Regions from separate parts of the Homo sapiens genome. Here region 2 is linked to region 1. Evidence: promoter capture Hi-C in human tissues and cell types (Jung and others, 2019). All regions are on one chromosome and are shown on one strand. Each heading gives the region's core, a stretch centred on a gene start or on the middle of the fragment in contact. The rest is flanking DNA. Distances are from core to core; before and after follow the strand shown. Region 1 holds the start of CCNB1IP1 (cyclin B1 interacting protein 1). Region 2 holds the start of RNASE2 (ribonuclease A family member 2).

Region 1 (2,832 bases), core at 242-2,741:
AGTGGAAAAAGTAAGACACATAGTAGAGTAGGTATAGTAAAAGGGAAGGATACCTACACATATTTGCTTATATGCATAAAATATCTTAGTAACACTGTTATGAGGGAGAGGAATTGGATGGCTTAGGGAAGGGGATAAGAAACTTTGATATCTTTTGAATTTTGAACCATGTGAATGTATTACCTATTCAAAAATATATATATATATGATGTGTATACATATATATATATATATATATATTTTTTTTTTTTTTTTTTTTTTTTTGAGACAGAGTTTCGCTCTTGTTGCCCAGGCTGGAGTGCAATGGCGCGATCTCGGCTCACCGCAACCTCCACCTCCCGGGTTCAAGCGATTCTCCTGCCTCAGCCTCCCGAGTAGCTGGGATTACAGGCATGCGCCGCCATGCCCCAAAAAATAAATTTTAACAATGCTTGAGAATTATAAAAATTATGGGAGGCCTACAAATACCTATTACTACATTCGATTAACTGGTTTATTATTTGTCTTTCTCACACTTTCTGCCTATAAGAATATCCAACACAAACATCACATTAAAATTAACATGTACCAAAAGAAAGGAATTCAGTGAAATGACATTGAAGGTCACTAAGCAAACTTTTTATGAGAAAACAGATATCCAAAATACTTGCTGTAAATAAATAAGTACTGCTTACTTCTAAAGGTACCTAACATTTATTACACACCAACTAGAGCCTAGTTTTTATATATTTTATCTGATCTTGGAAAGCTAAGCCTCGGAATGGCTCACTGCTTCTCCCAAGGTCACCAGAGCTGTAAACTGTGGCGCTGGAATTTAAATCTAGAGGCTTGCCCTGAACTAAGGTCCCTAATCTTTTTCCATAGCTTTTAAGGACACAATCACCACAGTGGCAACATTAAAAATTAGGAGCTCCTTTTAAGGCTTATCTGTCTTCAGAGTTTGCTGCCCAGGTTCACCAAGAAAGCCGAAATGATCTGAGCGAAGGCCAGGAGAAAGACAAGGTACGCTGCAGCTTCCACAAACCCAGTAAGGACCTGGGCCCTCTAGACACTCACCGGAGAATTAAACTCTACTGAGCTGAACGCCTTCTCCCGAAATCTGACCTCACCCAGGGAGATATAAATCAAAACAGCATTAGGATGATAATATCTTTCCCGCCAAGCAAAATGAAGCCGGCGTTTTCCAAGAACACACGCACTGTGCACATGAAGCACAGTCTATTGTTCCTGGGTCACCAGGACTCGGAGACGGAAGGCAAACCCAGTACTGCAGAGGCCCACGTGGAAACAAGCCAGGAAGAGCATTTCACTGCCTTCTCCCAACCTCCACACAGCCGAAATTAATCTCCTTGCGACTCACACACACTCCTATGCCGACTTGAAATAAAGGCCTGCCACCTGGGTATATAACTCAAATGGAAGAGAAATTCAAAACAATTAGAGAGCAAAATTAAGCGCACACTCACCAGCCCACCAAAACGGAGAGGGAAAGAAAGTGGAGAGACAGGAAGTCGCCTTGGGAAGTGTCTTCAGAACCTGATTGGCTAATGAGTTCAAGAGGATTCCCTCCTCCTTTACCTTAAAAGGTGCTGAAATGACGTAACCCACTCCACCCCTCTTTATGGACCAGTGATGCTTCTTGCACTATTTTTGGAGTGAACTTCTTAAACCGAGTTTCCTTTTGAGTTAATGTACTTAGGCAAAAACAGGCTAATTTAAGCTATTTATACACGTTGTTGTTTGCGTGGGCCTACTGCATTCTATTCTAAAGAATTTTCATCCCTTAAGGGTAATTTCTTATCCTTTGTGACCTCAACATGCTTAACTTATGCTAGGCAACAGATTCCATTATAAACAGTCTAGATCGATTCAAGTTAAAATTTACCTTCATTTTTTCCCCCCAGATCCAAAGCTGGCCTGATAAAATTTACCTTCAGGTAATCTTTGAACTAACAGGCTTAGTAGATAAAAGGTAGGTGGGTTAAGTGTTTTAGGCTTCAAATAAAATTTAGCTGATTTTGAATCTGAACCTTGCCACTTATTTGCACACATCTAAGCCTCAGTTCCAACTATAAAAAGAGGGAAAAAAGATGAAATCTTCCTACTCTGATGGTTATGAGGATTAAGTAAAATAATTTATATAATGTACTCAGTACAATGCCCGGTACACAGTACTCAACAATGTTAGCTGTTATTATTGTTATTACATATTTCTTGTTAGATTTATATTCCCAAGTAGACTATAAACAACTGGAGATCAAAGTGTACGTTTTACACATCTCCAGACAAAAACAATGACTTTCAATGCTGAGGACATAATTGATTAATCAATTATTTTGACTCCTCACATCGCCCTCCAGTTAAAGTATAGGTTCTTACTCTGTTAAATTTTTTTTTTTTTTGAAACAGGGTCTCACTTCGTGTCCCAGGCTGGAGTGCAGTGGTGAAATCTCGACTCACTGTAGCCTTGACCTCCCAGGTTCAAGCGATCTCCTGCCTCAGTAAGTAGCTGGGACTACAGGCGTGCACCATCACACCCAGCTAATTTTTGTATTTTTTTGTAGAGATGGGGTTTCGCCATGTTGCCCAAGCTGAAAGATTTCTTTTTAAGCCATAATTAGAGGACTCCCCGGCACAATATTCATCATTATTCTTAATAAATACTATTATAGTAATAGGGAATATATATACAAGTATGTGTTATATGTACAAATATACATGTAATGTGCAAATGTTTGAAGTATAAAGATTCAAGTTATATGGAGAAATGATACAACTCTAACTCATAGTAGTTCTCATTTTTTAATCATTTCATCCTATCCACCCTGCTTC
Region 2 (2,832 bases), core at 220-2,719, 620 kb after region 1:
GGACTTCAAGGCAGAGCAATATTAGCTGCGCATTGAGTCCTCACTGGGTCACCATTGTGTCCACATTTACCTAAGGACCCCAGTGATAAAATTATTGCATTTCTAAATGACAGGAAAATTGGATGGTAGTAAAAATTATGTAGATTAACTGTTGGAAGGTATATTATATCATTTAAGGGTCTAATATCAATTTTCTAATCTGAAAGCTAGACCAGATTTAACATCTCTTAGTACTCAGGTCTTACCACTGCAATTCACTTCCCACCTCTGTACAATTTCCCCACATCATCCCCTGTGCCCAGAATGCTCATCTCTTCCCTAAAGTCCCTGAAAACTCCCTGCTTATCTTTTAGGGCCCTGCTGAAATCAAACTTTTTTTTTTGAAGTCTTCCTTGTCCCTCAAGCCAAGTGATTTCCTTCACCCTCGGCGTCCCCATGAAACCATGTTCACACAAGTGTAATACAATTATGTGTCTACAATTACTTTCCTGTATGTCTCTGAGGGCCAAGAATAAATGTATGCTTTGTGTATCAAACTGTACACTTGACCTCTATACTTTCAGGAATACAGTGCTCTGTCCTTAAATGTTCATTTGTAAATACAGAACCATTTTCTTGTTAATATCACAAAATGAAACTTACCAGGAAGATGAATGACAACCCCAGAACACAGTGTTTTGTAGAAAATACCATAGGCTGAAAAGATCACAGGAATACCGAGTGCTAGGTTGGAATCTTTCATGACACCAAATGTTCATTCATTCTCTGCCAGACTTTACAACTGTCCTCGGTGTGTTTTTAGGTTGTGTAACTTTACACAAAGTGGAAGCAATAATCAGGGCAAGACTTAAGAGAAAGTGGATCCAATGCAAGAGGAGTAAAGAAAAAAATCCCTCAAGTATGTGTAGCAGATTGTTTTAATTATCTACAGAATCTTGTGCCCTAAGAAATTAATAGCTCAAGTTTCCAGCAAGAGTGGTGGATGAGATGGAGAGCATTTGTGTGAGAGAGAACCAAGGATATTACTAAAAATGAAAGGGAAGCTGGGTTTCTCCTGGGCAAACAGCCCTCAGTGGCTCTATTTGTTCTAACTACTATGCCTGCCTTCATGTACTTTGGTCATTTAGTGGCCTGCCAGAGGACAGTTATAAAATCTGTGGTCATTCTGCAGGCAGCATATAGTTTTCATCCAGAGTTTGGATCTAACCAGCAAAACTCTGTCTTACACAGGATGACTTGGAATTAGAGTCCTTATAGCAGAAAGAGCAGCAGGGCTGTCCTTGGGTATCCGTTGCTCAGCCAAGTCATCAAATAAAAAGGATGATTGCACAAGTGGACTATGTACCAATCTGTGGGTTTCTGCATGGCCAAGAGCCAGACCCTCCCTCTGGGCTCTGCTGGCCCAACCCACCAAGGGATGCTTTATTTAAACAGTTCCAAGTAGGGGAGACCAGCTGCCCCTGAACCCCAGAACAACCAGCTGGATCAGTTCTCACAGGAGCTACAGCGCGGAGACTGGGTAAGTCAACGATCCCCAGAGCTGGGACAGAAGGGGCAGCAATGGGGCAGCAACTGAGGGAGAAGAGAGCTGACGTTAGTGCTTAGGAGACGTTGCACACTTTGCAGACAGGAAGTAAAGGAAATGGGACCCCAGAGTGGCCGCAGAGGGGCCTGTGGGGTAAGACACTACAGTGTGTGTCATAACCAAGACCCGATCAGGGAGTAGTTACTTCTCTTCTTTTCTTACAGGAAACATGGTTCCAAAACTGTTCACTTCCCAAATTTGTCTGCTTCTTCTGTTGGGGCTTCTGGCTGTGGAGGGCTCACTCCATGTCAAACCTCCACAGTTTACCTGGGCTCAATGGTTTGAAACCCAGCACATCAATATGACCTCCCAGCAATGCACCAATGCAATGCAGGTCATTAACAATTATCAACGGCGATGCAAAAACCAAAATACTTTCCTTCTTACAACTTTTGCTAACGTAGTTAATGTTTGTGGTAACCCAAATATGACCTGTCCTAGTAACAAAACTCGCAAAAATTGTCACCACAGTGGAAGCCAGGTGCCTTTAATCCACTGTAACCTCACAACTCCAAGTCCACAGAATATTTCAAACTGCAGGTATGCGCAGACACCAGCAAACATGTTCTATATAGTTGCATGTGACAACAGAGATCAACGACGAGACCCTCCACAGTATCCGGTGGTTCCAGTTCACCTGGATAGAATCATCTAAGCTCCTGTATCAGCACTCCTCATCATCACTCATCTGCCAAGCTCCTCAATCATAGCCAAGATCCCATCTCTCCATATACTTTGGGTATCAGCATCTGTCCTCATCAGTCTCCATACCCCTTCAGCTTTCCTGAGCTGAAGTGCCTTGTGAACCCTGCAATAAACTGCTTTGCAAATTCATCTGAAAGTGTCTGTGTGTCTTCATTAGCCGCTCTGCTGTCATTTAGTGACAATCTACTCTAGAGATTTTTCTTCCTCTAACCTGAGACTTCCGGGAAACAGAGAGATTTGAAGATAAGAGACGCTTTCTGTCATGAAACAGCACAGTCTTATCCCTCTCCCTGCTTTAGGCTGAGAAGCTGAGGTCTCAACCGATATCTAGCAACTGTCGAAGACTCTTGCTTTGATCAAGCTTTAGTCATCTCCTCTAAACCCTCTTCACAACTAGGTCATCCTGTTGGGCTTCCTAGTCCTTCCTTGTAGAGTCATTTGTATTTATTTTTTATTTTATTTTATTTTATTTTATTTTATTTTATTTTATTTTATTTATTTTATTTTTTGAGACAGAGTCCCGCTCTGTCGCCCAGACTGGA

The links. Contacts are between HindIII fragments. The study calls those that stand out against the background at their distance.
Region 2: the fragment with the promoter of RNASE2 here is called in contact with the fragment with the promoter of CCNB1IP1 in region 1 in 1 of the 25 tissues and cell types used here (hippocampus).

The regions. Positions count from the first base shown.
Region 1 is chr14:20,331,788-20,334,619 of GRCh38, forward strand. CCNB1IP1 (cyclin B1 interacting protein 1) reads right to left here and starts at 1,492. Exons shown (of 7, transcript NM_021178.5): 1 at 1,467-1,492. RefSeq lists an enhancer at 1,262-1,571. The HindIII fragment of the contact is 13,028 bases long and covers 1-2,832 here.
Region 2 is chr14:20,954,018-20,956,849 of GRCh38, forward strand. It overlaps RNASE2 (ribonuclease A family member 2), which reads left to right and starts at 1,470. Exons shown (of 2, transcript NM_002934.3): 1 at 1,470-1,519; 2 at 1,750-2,419. The coding sequence starts at 1,755. The coding sequence ends at 2,240. The HindIII fragment of the contact is 15,094 bases long and covers 1-2,832 here.